3 separate regions of the Homo sapiens genome follow, and all the other regions are linked to region 1. The links are contacts of gene promoters, found by promoter capture Hi-C in blood cells and fetal thymus (Javierre and others, 2016). All regions are on one chromosome and are shown on one strand. Each heading gives the region's core, a stretch centred on a gene start or on the middle of the fragment in contact. The rest is flanking DNA. Distances are from core to core; before and after follow the strand shown.

The links. Contacts are between HindIII fragments. The CHiCAGO score rates a contact against its expected background, and 5 or more counts as called.
Region 2: a contact is called between a fragment that was not itself captured here and the fragment with the promoter of CCDC97 in region 1, in 1 of 17 cell types (naive CD4 T cells). The highest score is 5.9, in naive CD4 T cells.
Region 3: a contact is called between the fragment with the promoter of CYP2B6 here and the fragment with the promoter of CCDC97 in region 1, in 4 of 17 cell types (naive CD8 T cells, non-activated CD4 T cells, total CD4 T cells and 1 more). The highest score is 9.0, in naive CD8 T cells.

The regions. Positions count from the first base shown.
Region 1 is chr19:41,308,066-41,312,613 of GRCh38, reverse strand. CCDC97 (coiled-coil domain containing 97) reads right to left here and starts at 2,442. Exons shown (of 5, transcript NM_052848.3): 1 at 2,258-2,442. The coding sequence starts at 2,303. It overlaps LOC105372401 (a long non-coding RNA gene), which reads left to right and starts at 2,565. Exons shown (of 2, transcript XR_935968.4): 1 at 2,565-2,676; 2 at 2,789-4,548. RefSeq lists enhancers at 2,107-2,396, 3,670-3,849. The HindIII fragment of the contact is 19,818 bases long and covers 1-4,548 here.
Region 2 is chr19:40,827,891-40,832,438 of GRCh38, reverse strand. No RefSeq gene overlaps it. Among named protein-coding and RNA genes, the nearest start is that of CYP2A6, 20 kb to the left of the region's middle. The HindIII fragment of the contact is 2,459 bases long and covers 1,288-3,746 here.
Region 3 is chr19:40,989,472-40,994,019 of GRCh38, reverse strand. It overlaps CYP2B6 (cytochrome P450 family 2 subfamily B member 6), which reads right to left and starts at 2,738. Exons shown (of 9, transcript NM_000767.5): 1 at 2,544-2,738. The coding sequence starts at 2,714. RefSeq lists cis regulatory regions at 2,973-2,996, 4,371-4,383, promoters at 2,733-4,398, 2,699-4,548 and enhancers at 4,425-4,444, 4,427-4,474. The HindIII fragment of the contact is 6,148 bases long and covers 2,485-4,548 here.

The DNA of each region.
Region 1 (4,548 bases), core at 1,193-3,692:
TTGAGAACTATGAGAGAATAAAGTTCTGTTGTTTGAAGCCATGCAGTTTGTAGTACTTTGTTACAGCACCCCTGGGAAACAAAGTCAGGCTGAGAAGGAGCAGCCTGAGAGACAGGCAGGAAATCAGGCACTGTGGTGTCGCTGAAGCCAAAGGAAAACATGCAAAAAGGATGGAAGGATCAACAGCATTTAATTCTAGTCCAGTCTAGTAAGAAAAAAAACCTGAATGGGCCAAGTGTGGTGGCTCACACCTGTAATCCCAGCACTATGGGAGGCTGAGGCAGGAGGATCTCTTGAGGTCAGAAGTTCGAGGCCAGCCTGGCCAACATGGTGAAACCCCATCTCTACTAAAAATATACAAAATTAGACAGGCATAGTGGCGGGCACCTGTGATCCCAGCTACTTGGGAGGCTGAGGCACGGGAATCACTTGAACCTGGGAGGTGGAGGTTGCAGTGAGCTGAGATCATGCCACTGCACTCCAGCCTGGGCAACAGAGTGAGACTCTCTCAAAAAACAAACAAACAAACAAAAACCTGAATGGGGGGACTGAATTGAACAACATGGGGGAAGTCAGTGCAGACCCTAATCAGAGCAGTTTCTTAGGAGAAAAGTCAGACAGTCGTGAGCAGGAGACGAGGAAATGAAGACCAAGTATACATGACTCTCTGAAGGAGACAGATGGGGCCAAGAGACAAATTTTTTTTCTTTTTTTTGAAACAGGGTCTTGCTCTGTTGCTCAGACTGCAATGCAATAGTGCAAACACAGCTCACTGCAGCTTTGACCTCCTGGGCTCAAGTGATCCTCCCGCCTCAGACTCCTGAGTAGCCGGGACCACAGGAATGCACCATCAAACCTGGCTAATTTTTTTTTTTTTGAGACAGAGTTTTGCTCTGTTACCCAGACTGGAGTACAGTGGTGCGATCTCTGCTCACTGCAACCTCCGCCTCCCGGGTTCAAGTGATTCCAGTTGGTGCCTCAGCCTCCCGAGTAGCTGGGATTACAGGCACATACCACGACGCCTGGCTAATATTTGTATTTTTAGTAGAGATGGGGTTTCGCTATGTTGGCTAGGCTGGTCTCCAACTCCTGACCTGAGGTGATCTTCCTGCCTCCGCCTTCCAAAGTGCTGCGATTACAGGTGTAAGCCACCGGGCCCGGCCTTAATTTTTAAATTTTTTGTAGAGATGGGGTCTGGCTATGTTGCCAGTGCTGGTCTCAAACTCCTGGGCTCAAGTCTCACTCTGCTGCAGAGGCTGGAGTGCAGTGGTGTAATAATCTTAGGTCACTGCAATCTCAAAGGATTCGAGTGACACTCCCACCTTAGTCTCCTGAGTAGCTTGTCCTAGCTACTCCCTAGCCACCAGGCCTGGCTAATTTTTAAATGTTTATAGAGATCAGGTTTCTCTCTCTTGCCCAGGCTGGTCTCAAACTCTTGGGCTCAAGCAACTCTCCTGCCTTGGCCTCCCAAAGTGTTGGGATTACAAGCGGGAGCCACTGCACCCGGCCTTAAGACTTTTTTTAGGTTAAATTTTTTATTTTTAGAAAATTTCAAACATACACAAAAGTAGAAAGTACAACGACAATTCTCCCCCTACCTCCATATACCAATCATCTCCATCTGGCTTCCACAATTACCAATTCTTGGCCAGTGGTGTTGGAGCCACGCTTCCAATCACACCTCACCCGACGTCGGATTACTTTGAAGGTTGTGGGAAAGCACAGAAATTGAGTAAGGACTTTGAAAGGAGCCTGGCTGGATTTCGGACTTTGGGGGAAACGGGAGTTACAATGAAATGAAGGAATCGTTAGATTGGGATAAGTTTGCATGAGGCAGGTAGAAGTTTAGCCTGGAAAGGTAGGAGGATTCGTCTAGAGAGCAAGGGAAGGCTCAGCTTGGTACAGGGAAGGAGGTAATTTGAGAAGGGCTGGTCTGAGGCAATGCAGGAATTAGGCCGGGGTAGAGAGGTTTCTGTTAATTTGAGAGTTAGCCTGGTAAGGAAATGAATTAGGGACATGGAAAGGATTGGTCTGGAACTGGGAAGAGGTTAATTTCGGGGGGAAGGAATGGAGGAAAAGAAGGTCAGCCCGCGACAAGGGAGGGAATAATCTGGGCAAAGTAGTGAAGAGGACCGGTAAAGCTGAGGGGGGTGGGTGTCCCCCTAAAACGAGTCCTACTTCGCGTTCCTGGGGGAATCATTTCCTAGAGACACCGCAACCGCACCCACCCGCCGCCTGCGCGTGACCAAGATCTCACCCTTATCGGGTTCCTTCGCCGCCGTCGCCGTCGCCACGGCCTCCATCCTGATTCTCTCGGACTTTTCAACCGCCCGGCGGGCCCCGCACACTAACCTCCGGCCCACGCACGCAAGAGACACTTTCGCCTGAGAATGTTCCGGGTCCGGGTGCACCGCTGCGCCCAGGCACCGAAGTTCCGGGCCTAAGGCAGACGTTGCATTGCGCATGCGTGCCTCTCTCGGGCTCCGCCCTCCGCAGCCAGGAAGGAAAGGGGCTCCCCGGAGAGTGAGAGACCCTTAAACCTCTCCTGTCAGTCAGTAGGAACCAGAATCATTGTTCGTTTTATCACTGCTGTGACTCCAGCTCCCAGCGTGCTTAATTTTGGGATGGATGGCTAAAGGACTTTCCCCCGGAGCCTGGAGCCGTCATACGCTGAGGGTTCGTGCTCTCGTTTAGACCCCCGCTTGTCCTTTTCCTTTCTTAACTCCTTCAGGAATTCAGGAATATTACTAAGCCTTGACTCTTTTTTTTTTTTTTTTTTTTGAGACAGGGTCTCGCTTTGTCGCCTAGACGAATGCAGTGGCGCGATCACAGTTCAAGTAACCTCACATTCCTGTGCTCAAGTGATCCTCCTGCCTCAGCCTTTGGAGTACTTGGGACTACAGGCGCGCACAACCGCGCCCGGCTAATTTTTAAAATTTTTTTGTAGAGCCAGGGGTCCCACTTTGTTGCCCAGGCTAGTCCCCAACTCCTGGCCTCAAGCAATCCTCCCGCTTCAGCCTCTCAAAATGCTGGGATTACGCGCGTGAGCCACCAGCCTGGCTTACTTCCGTCATCATACCCTGTCTCTGGCTGGCATGAGATGGATAGTGAGATAGAACTTCCCATTTTGTGTTCCCAGGACCTGGAGGAAATCTACAGGTGTGAAACAAGACAACTCTGGTCCTTATTTCCCTATGGGATGGGTGGGGCTCTATTTAGGTGTTACCAGCAGAGTAGACAGACATGTCACTCAGTGGCCAGGGCTTTGATGGATCCAGAGGGCTGAGGGAGCTGTCCACCCCAGGCTGGAGGGTCAAGGAAGCCTTCTTTCTGGGAGGGTACCCTCAAGCTAAGACCTGAAGAACGAGTAGGAGCTGGGTTAAGAGGAAGGTAGGGAAGAGTCTTGAGGAGGATGGCACGTACGGACGGTTCTGGTTGCTGCAAGCACTTCACTACGGTCAGGGCATAGGAAAGGAGCTCTAACTTGAAAGCCATGATTGGGCTGTGGAGGTTTTGAGAACCTCATGAATTTTTATGCAAAATTCCATGTACCTCTGTATTCTCCAATGCAGTGGTTCATGGCATCATTTGTGGGTTCCAAAAAGGACTTATGGCTCCTCAGAACAAAATAAACACTGATTTGATATTCAAAGGGGGAGCAGAAAGAGAGGGCGCCAGCGATGTTACCAGGTGCTAGGCCATGCAGGGCCTCATAAGCCATAGTAAGTGGCTTGACCTCCTTTATTCTGAAGGGAGTGGGCATCAAGGGACTGGAGATGAGACGTGTGAGAAAAACTGGCTGAGAACAGAGGAAGAGCTTCCCCATTTGCATTCCCTTGAGGTCTGGAGTTGTGGAAGAAAGCCAAGGAGGTCCCTATTTACCAACCCAGATTCCTAGGCATTACCAGGAGAGGCCAGCAGAGGGCGCTGTAGCCCAGCATATGGACATGAAGGGAAGGGGACTTTCCAGACTAAAGGCCCTGCCACCTCCTCTCTGGCGCATTCTAGGGTCCCTTTTAGCCACCAACCTTGGTTCCTTCTCACGTTCTGATGCCCTACCCGAGATTCTGAGACTAGTCAGTTTCCCTCCCTTGTTTTTGTTGCCCATCTCCCCTTCACAAGGCTCTGAGCTCCCACCAGGGAAGATTGGGGCTGAATTGGCTTCTCCTGTGGCCCAGCATTGTCTCTCACAAGGAGCCAGGAACACAGCATGTATGAGGGAACGAAGACATAAGGTTGCTAAGGAAGGGGAAGATGGGCCATGGGGATGCAATCTGGAGTCTTTTACCCTGGCTCACTCCTCCAGGAAGCCCTCCCTGCACACCACCCCAGGCTCTCACAGCTGACCACTTGGTGCTGGCAGGTCTTTGTTCTCTCTGGAGTGGGAGCTCTGTGAGAACGGGGTCCAGGACTGCCGTGGCCATACTATGTCCCCAGCACTGTCCAGGACAGCTGAAGAACACAGCAGGTGGCTCACACACACTGGCTGAAACATGAAGCTCCTGGAATCCCCATGAGCCCCAAACACAGAACAGGCAGGAACTGTCC
Region 2 (4,548 bases), core at 1,268-3,767, 480 kb after region 1:
CCCGAGTAGCTAGGATTATAGGCACCTACCACCACACCTGGCTAACTTTTGTATTTTTTAGTAGAGATGGGGGTTTCACCATGTTGACCAAGCTGGTCTTGAACTTGTGACCTCAAGCGATCCACCCTCCTTGGCCTCCCAGTGTGCTGGGATTACAGGCGTGAGCCACCACACCCAGCTGAGGCTATGCTCTTAACTACATTTACTCCCCTTCCTGCCCTTTCCCCTCAATCTGCAGACAGGGTACTAAGACCAACTGGGAAAAAATTCAAACTCCAGGGCACTGCCTGTTTCATAATAAACCACAGATCTCAAGTTTCAAACATTTTCCAATATGTGTTGGCAGCTTAGATGTCATTTGTTGACTCTTCTACCAAGGACGGGTGGGGGAAGGTAATAAGAAGCCCTAAAGCTGTGTCTGGTTTTGTAACAAGCACGTGAGTCCATAAAACCAAATGCCTGCATGAGATGTAATTGTCCACGTGCTCTCCCCCTTGGAAAGAGGCTGAAACCTTTGACTCAGTGATTCCTCAACATAAGGAATTTAGCAGATGTTAAAACCACAGTCTCTAATTCAAAATTTGAGCTATTAGGATCACTGGGTGTGAAATCATGGCCTCCAATTTTGTTGGTTGTTTGGGGTGGGTTTTTTTGTCTTTTTGAGACAGTGTCTTGCTCTGTCACCCAGGCTGGAATGCAGTGTCACAATCATAATTCACTGCAGCCTTAACCCCCTGGCTCAGGCAATCCTCCCACCTCAGCCTCCCAAGCAGCTGGGACCACAGGTGCATTCTCCCACACCCTAGTAGTAGAACTTTTTTTAATGTTTTTGTATAGATGGTGTCTCGCTATAGGGCCCAGGCTAGTATCCACTACCACCTCAGCCTCCCAGAGCAATCCTTACTCTCAGTTACGGTTTGTGGAACTATAAATTGGTACAGCTTCAGAGGAGAGTAATGTGAATGCTTTTCTCTAAATTACAAAAGAACATACTCTCAGATTCAGTTAACTCCACTTCTAGTAATGTCTCCTATGATGTACAAGAAAGTGTGCAAAATCACCTAGATTCATCAAAGAACTGTTTACATAATGAAAAATAGGAAACCAACATATGCACCAAGATATTGGTTAAACAAATTATGATGCATTCATTTGATAGACTTGGTCCATCAGAACCCCAGCAGAAAAATATGAGTGCTTAATGGAGGGACTTTTTTTTTTGAGTCGGAGTCTCGCTGTTTCGCCCAGGCTGGAGTGCAATTGCGCGATCTCAGCTCACTGCAAGCTTCGCCTCCCGGGTTCAGGCCATTCTCCTGCCTCAGCCTCCCGAGTAGCTGGAACTACAGGCACCCGCCACCACGCCCGGCTAATTTTTTGTGTTTTTAGTAGAGACAGGGTTTCACCATGTTAGCCAGGAAGGTCTCGATCTCCTGACCTCGTCATCCGCCCGCCTCGGCCTCCAAAAGTGCTGGGATTACAGGTGTGAGCCGCCGCGCCTGGCCAATGGAGGGACTTTTTACAAAGTGGAGGGCAGTGTGAAAGAACCCTACAAGACGTTGAAGCACTCTATGGCTTACAATAAGGAGACGCCATCATCATCCTTAGGTTGAAAGGTGCAGTGAGAGGGAGTAGTTTCCGAAACCGAGACTGATTGTATAGGGGTAAAAGAGAGCCCCCAGCAGGAGGGCATGGTTTCTGGCAGAGGAATACAACCATTGCTATCACACAGCCAAGCAAAATAATCTGACATTGCTCTTCTCTCAAACTTCCATTGGCCAAACCCAAAAATTTTTTTAATGTAGAGGTGAAGGGAGCATGGGTGGTACAGTTTATAGAGGCCACCCTTCTAAAAGACAGGTCATGGTGGAGAGTGGAGATGGTAGGGCAAATAGAATACCCAGCACAATGGCCAGGAGCTCACACCTCTAATCCCAACACTTTGGGAGGCTGAGGTGGGCAGATCATGAGACCAGGAATTCAAGACCAGCTTGGCCAACATGGCAAGACCCTGTCTCTACTAAAAATACAAAAAATAGCCAGGTGTGGTGGCACACACCTGTAATCTCAGCTACTCAGGAGGCTGAGGCCCAAGAATCACTTGAGCCCGGGAGGCAGAGGTCGCAGTGAGCCAAGATTGCCCTACTGCACTGCAGCCTGAAAGACAGAGTGAGACGGTCTTAAAAGAAAAAGAAAAAAAATTCCAACCCAACCTGACAGATACAGTGGATATAGTAAGTTACTATTTGTATATTTGTGTATGGAATAACCTGGAAACTGGTAACATTAGTATCAACTTGGCAAGGGAAACTGGGTTGAAGAAATTTCACTTTCCATCATTTTGTATCTTTTGAATTTTGGATAGTGTCAACATATTATCTGATCAAGGAGAAAAGAAATTTAAAAATCAGGTGTAAAGGGAGTGTACCTCTGCTTCCAAATTTAAGCCAAGAGCCACTGTGAAAAGTAGTTTGGTGATTTCTAAAAAAACTTAAAATAGAACTACCATCCGACCCAGCAATCTCATTATTGAGTATATACACAAAGGAATATCAATCGTTCTACCATGAAGACACGTGCACACCTTTGTTCACAGCAGCACTGTTCACAATAGCAAAGATGTGGAATCAACCTAAATGCCCATCAGTGGTAGACTGGATAAAGAAAATGTGGGCTGGGCGTGGTGACTCACGCCTGTAATCCCAGCACTTTGGGAGGCCAAGGTGGGTGGATTACGTGAGGTCGGTAGTTCGAGACCAAGCCTGTCCAACATGGTGAAACCCCGTCTCTACTAAAAATACAAAAAAATTAGCCAGGCATAGTAGCGGGCACCTGTATTCCCAGCTACTTGGGAGGCTCAGGCAGGAGAAGTCACTTGAACCCAGGAGGCAGAAGTTGCAGTGAGATGAGATCACACCACTGCATTCCAGCCTGGGCAACAGAGCAAGACTCTGTCTGAAAGAAAGAAAGAGAGAGAGAGAGAAGGAATGAAGGAAGGAAGGAAGGAAGGAGAAAGACAGAAAATGTGGTATATATACACCATGGAATACTACACAGCCATAAAAAGGAACAAGATAATGTCTTTTGCAGCAACATAGATGGAGCTGGAAGCCACTATCCTAAGTGAACTAATGCAGGGACAGAAAACCAGACACCACAGGTTCTCACTTATAGGTGGGAGCTGAACATTGACTACACATTGACACAAAAAAGGGAACAACAAACAGCAGGGCCTACTTGAGGGTAAGATGGGAGGAGGGTGAGGACCGAAAAACTACCTGTCGGGTGCTATGCTTATTACCTGGGTGATGAAATAATGTGTACACCAAACCCTCACCATTGCTGAAGAGACTGGCGGCTAAATAGAGCAGTGGGTGAAATGGTCCCTGAGTGACATGTTAGGTCTTTGTACATAATTTAAAATAATGTGGCAATATTAATTTTAAAAAAAGAGGAGTGCAGGAAGAGCCAGAGAGAGACAATGTGAGGATGGAAGCAGAGACTGGAGTGATGTGCTTTGAAGATGGATGAAGGGGCTTCGCACAAAGGAATAAAGGGGCGACCAGAAGCTGAAAAGGCGAGGAAATGGATCCTCTTATCAAGGCTCCAGGAGGTACCAGCCCTGCTGACACCTTGACTTTATCCCAGTGAAGCTGATTTTGGAATTCTGGGCCCCAGAAGTAAAATAATAGTTTGGGGTCTGTTTGTTTACTTGTTTGATTGTTTGTTTGTTTGTTTGAAATGAAGCTTCACTCTTGTTGCCCAGGCTGGAGTGCAGTGGTATGGTCTTGGCTCACTGCAGCCTTGACCTCCTGAGCTCAACTGATTCTCCCGCCTTAGCTTCTCAAGTAGCTGGGATTACAGGCATGTGCCACCACATTCAACTCATTCTTTTAACTTTTTATAGAGAGGGAGTCTTGCTATGTTGCCCAGGCTAGTCTCAAACTCCTGTGCTCAAGCAATCCTCCTTCCTCAACCTCCCAATATATTCTGGGATTACAGGTGTGACCCACCACACCCAGCCTACATTATCTTTTCTTACTCAGTCCCTCCTGCCTCCCTCTAAAAAGGATCCCTGTGATTACATTAGGCCCAGCCAGACAGTCTAGAGTAAACTTCTCATCTCAAAATCCTCAACTTAATCCCACCTGCAAGGTCCTTTTTACCATGTAAGGTAACAAATTCACAGGTTGTAAGGATAAGGACCTGGACATCTTTTGGGGGGCATTACAACCTGCCACAACACCATGATCTGTAACAGCCTTGCAATGGGTCAGGCCCTTCACTGACTCCCAGTCACACACTCACTGACTCCTTATAGTAGCCCCAGGATGAGAGGAGTGCCATCAGGCCCATTTTACAGATGAGAAGACTGAGGCTCGGAAAAAGGAAGTCAGTTTGCCCAAGTCACACCAAGGCTAAGAGACCAACGAGGATTCAAACCGCGTCCATCTAACTCCAGATCTGGTTTTTTGGGCTGTGCTATTGTGTCCTGGGTGCTGTGTTGAAATATGCTGTTTTGGCCGGGCATGGTGGCTCACGCCTGTAATC
Region 3 (4,548 bases), core at 1,489-3,988, 320 kb after region 1:
TTGAATTTTGCAGCTAATTGAACCTCCAAGGAGTTCAGATGGGTAGAAGCCACTCTCCAAACTGAGATGAGAACATTTGTGGCAACAAAAACGCTTAATGGAACATCACGCAATTTTAGATCTCCTCTATGCCCATCTTGGAGGCTTGTGTATGGTGCTGAAGAAAACCAAATATTGCTCTTATCTTTCCAGTGAATTCACTAGTGCAGATAACTTAATTTAAAATGCGGCTGACACTGCTGTTTCTCTAGACACTGCCACAAATACACTAAGGACATTTCTCAGGGGAAAGAAACAGATATGTGTTTACAGGTGCAGCTAGCAGTTGGTTTGCAAGCATCCTGAATGGTGATGGTAAGTGATATGGTTTGGCTCTGTGTCCTCACCCAAATCTCATCTTGAATTGTAATCCCCAGGTGTGGAGGGAAGGACCTAGTAGGAGGTAACTGGATCCTGGGGGCGGTTTCCCCCATGCTGTTCTTGTGATAGTGAGTGAGTTCTCACAAGATCTGATGGTTTTATAAGAGGCTCTTCCCCCTTGGCTCTCTCTCTTTTTCCTGCCACCTTGTGAAGAAGGTACTTGCTTCTCCTTCACCTTCCATCATGATTGTAAGTTTCCTGCTTCTCATTCACCTTTTGCCATGAATTGTATTTTCCTGGGGCCTCCCCAGCCATGTGGAACTGTGAGTCAGTTACATCCCTTTTGTTTATAAATTACCCAGTCTCAGGTATGTCTTTATAACAGTGTGAGAATGGACTAACACAGCAAGCCTGGCTATCCCAAACTTTTCTACTCTTAATGTTTCTTCTAGTGGGTCTCCAGGATACTATATGTTACCAGGCCAACTACAAATGAATGTCTCTATAAATCAAGTTATTTTATAGCAAGCTCTGGTCCTTAATTACCATCATGCCCTGAACAAAATCTATGACCAATTGGACTCTAATACTATTGAACTATCTTTATTGTCTGAACTTCGAATTATTCGATTTTGATCAGTTTGGTTCATGGACACACTCAAGTTAAAAGAGACTATTAACAGCCTTTCTTCTCTCTGTGGACAGTGGACCTTATCTATACCCCCAAGTCCACATTCCTCAAAGTTTATTACAGGCCCAGTGACTTCATTTTCTTCGTATTACCCTCCTGAGAGCCATCATAACAGTCTCCCTGATGTGTTGTATTTTCTCAAGAGTCTTGGCCGGGTGCGGTGGCTCACACATGTAATCCTAGCACTTTGGGAGGCCGAGGCAGGTGGATTGCTTGAGCCCAGGAGTTTAAGACCAGTCTGGGCAACATGGCAAAACCCTGTCTCTACAAAAAATACAAAAATTAGCTGGGCGTGGTGGCATGCACCTGTAGTTCCAGCTACTTGGGGGGCTGAGGCAGGAGGATCACTTGAGCCTTGGGAGGTCAAGGCTGCAGTGAGACGTGATCATGCCACAGCACTTCAGCCTGGCTGACAGAGTGAGGCCCTGTCTCAGAAAAAAAAAGAGTCTTAAATGCTCATATGCAGCCATTCTTTGTACATCCAGTGGGCTCATTACAGTGGGAACAACAAAAACATGAAGAAAAGGTAAAGAATCACTCAACTACGTTGACATTGTCCATTGTGAATTCCATACTGAGAGCAGACAAGTCCATTATGATGGTGACAGAAGTAATGTTGATGCCCAAGGTTTTGGTCAATCTCAAAATTTTGAGGCTGACCAAAAGGGGAGAATTGTTTAATTAAATTAAATTTGACCTAAAGCTCTCTCTGTAGAGTGAACTGCAACCTAACTTGGGAGTATATTCTTTTTTTTTTTTTTTTTTTTGAGAAGGAGTCTCACTCTGTCACCCAGGATGGAGTGCAGTGGTAAGATTTTGGCTCACTGCAACCTCTGCCTCCTGGATTCAAGTGATTCTCCTTCCTCAGCCTCCTGGGTAGCTGAGATTACAGGCACGCATCACTATGCCCAGCTAATATTTGTATTTTTAGTAGAGACAAGGTTTCACCATGTTGGCCAGGCTGGTCTCGAACTCCTGACCTCAGGTGATCCACCACCTCGGCCTCCAAAAGCACTGGGATTACAGGCATGAGCCACTGCACCTGGCCCAAATGAATATATTCTTGTGACAAGTAGCCAAGTGTTGGCTAATCAGAGCAGCTGGGCTTTCAGTCCACACAGGCTGCAAACTGCTCAGATTGTGACCAAGTAAGGCAAGCTGTGATCTGTGGCCAATCAGGCTGTTTCTGTATGTCACCTCCTTTTTCTGCCTGTAAATACCACTTGACCATACTGCCGTGTGGTGTCTTTCCTGGTTTAGGGAGCTGTCCAACTCATGAGTCACTTCTTTGCTCAAATAAACTCTGCTAAATTTAATTTGATGCTTTTCTCCTAATAATACCACCCATCATGCTTCACCATGCTCCGTACTCACCAACCATGCCCGTGCCACCCCTGACTCTGGAAGTCTGCCTCATTCTGTTTGGTGAAGCTTCCCCAAGTACCAAGGCAAGAAGCAGCTCACCCTCAGACCCCATTCGTCTGTGTCTTACCCTCAGAAAGGATTTGAGTAGGCCTCTTCTATCCATCTGCAGAAGGTTTCCCAAAAGGGGCAGAGGGCGGGGCCCTGGTGGGAGGCGGTCATGGGTGTTAGGGTGGCGCTGAACCAGGAGTAGCAAGAGTCCTGTGAGGAGTGCAAGGAAGAGGAGGACGCTGAGTTCCATGGTCCTGGTCTGACTGCCCTGCACCCTGCTGCAGCCTCCAACTGGGCCTTTTATCCTGACCCTGCCTCTGCACCCTGTTATAAAATTTCATCCATTCCCCACCTCCTTTTTCATCATCATCCAGGAGCATTAGCTTAGAAAAAGTTGTTAGGGAACCCAGACTTCCTGCTTGGGCAACCCAGTGACCTGATGCCTATCCCTTTACCCACTCTGTAGATATTGGCAGGGATACAGTGGTAGAGATATCAAAGTCCAGGTGAGCAAGTGAATGTGTGGGTGTGTGGGTTTGTGGGTATATGTATGTCTATTTTTGTAAGCATAGGTGAGCTTGCACTTTTTTACTTAGCTTTGTCTGTTTGTCTGTGCTTGCATGCATTTGTCCATGCCTGCTTGCATCCCTGTATGTGCTTATATGATTTTTACATGTAAAGGGGTGTTTGAATTTATGCAAATGTACTGGCGTATATTTCTGTGGTTGAATCTGGGGGTGCTTATGTGTGTATCCTTGCATGTGTATGAGCTTCCTTGTATTTATACAGTTTTATATACGAAAGTGCATTTACATTTGTGTGTTGTGGAGGTGGTGGTAGTGCATGTTCAAAACTGAGAGGCTGGCTGGGTGCGGTGGCTCACACCTGTAATCCCAGCACGTTGGGAAGCTGAGGGGGGCAGATCAATTGAGGTCAAGAGTTCGAGACCATCCTGGCCCACATGGCAAAACCCCATCTGTACTAAAAACACAAAAATTAACCGGGCGTGATGGTGGGTACTTTTAATCCCAGCTACTCGGGAGGCTGAGGCAAGAGAATCACTTGAACCTGGGAGGTGGAGGCTGCAGTGAGCCAAGATTACACCACTGCACTCCAGCCTGGGTGACACAGCAATACTCCATCTCAAAAAAAAAAAAAAAAAAAAAAAAAGGAGAAGCTGATGAAAATAAGGAATTATTCAATTCAATCAAATTTGGCCTACTGCCTTTGTAGCATAGCAAACTGTAACCTAGCAATACATGAACCAATTGTGTGTATCTGTGTGTGCTGGTGTATTTGTGCTGGTGTGTTGGTGGATCTCCTAGCCCCTCTCTTTGGAAGCCTGCAGATGCTGAGTCTATCTCCAGTGTCCCCTCCTTCATCCGCCCTTCTGTGACAGCCACAGGTGGAAGTGGTCGGAGAAACAGAAGGAGGAGCAAGAGATGCAGAACTGGTGAGTCTCAGAGGAAGAGGTGGTCAGTTGGAAGGAGACAGAAACTGAGACCTGGCAGGTACAGCGATCAGGTCCTCTTGGTTTCTGATCACTCTAACTAGTGCTAAGGAGTTTCTTCCCTGCCTCTGACTATCTTCACGGTGCAGGAAATTTCTCTGGCTCTCTCTCTGTCTGACTTTGTGTCTCTGTTTTCCCCCTGGAGACTCTTGAGCTCCAGGTGTGTGCAAACTGAGTCCAGTTTGATTGATGTCTACTGGACTCCCATATGTCTCTATCCTCACTGTGCACCTTCACCCACACATCCTCTGACAGGGTCAGTCCATCTTTGCAAAACGTGGGTGTGAATGTGTGCGTGTCTGCCTGTCTCATCCTACGCCTGACTTTTGACCATGAGGCAACATCTTTCTTGCAATGTTAAGCAAACCCTTTGCTGGATCCAGGACCTGAACCCGAAGTTACTTTGACCCAGGAGGAGCAGACAAACAGTCCTATTTGTAAGAGGTGGAAACTGTACTTTCCTGACCCTGAAGAGGTGGCAGCATGGACTTTCCTGAACCAAGGGCCTCGGTCTTGCTGTGCTGTGTCATCTGACACTAAGATTGGGTGCTCATTGCAGCCCCAGGGTGAAGCA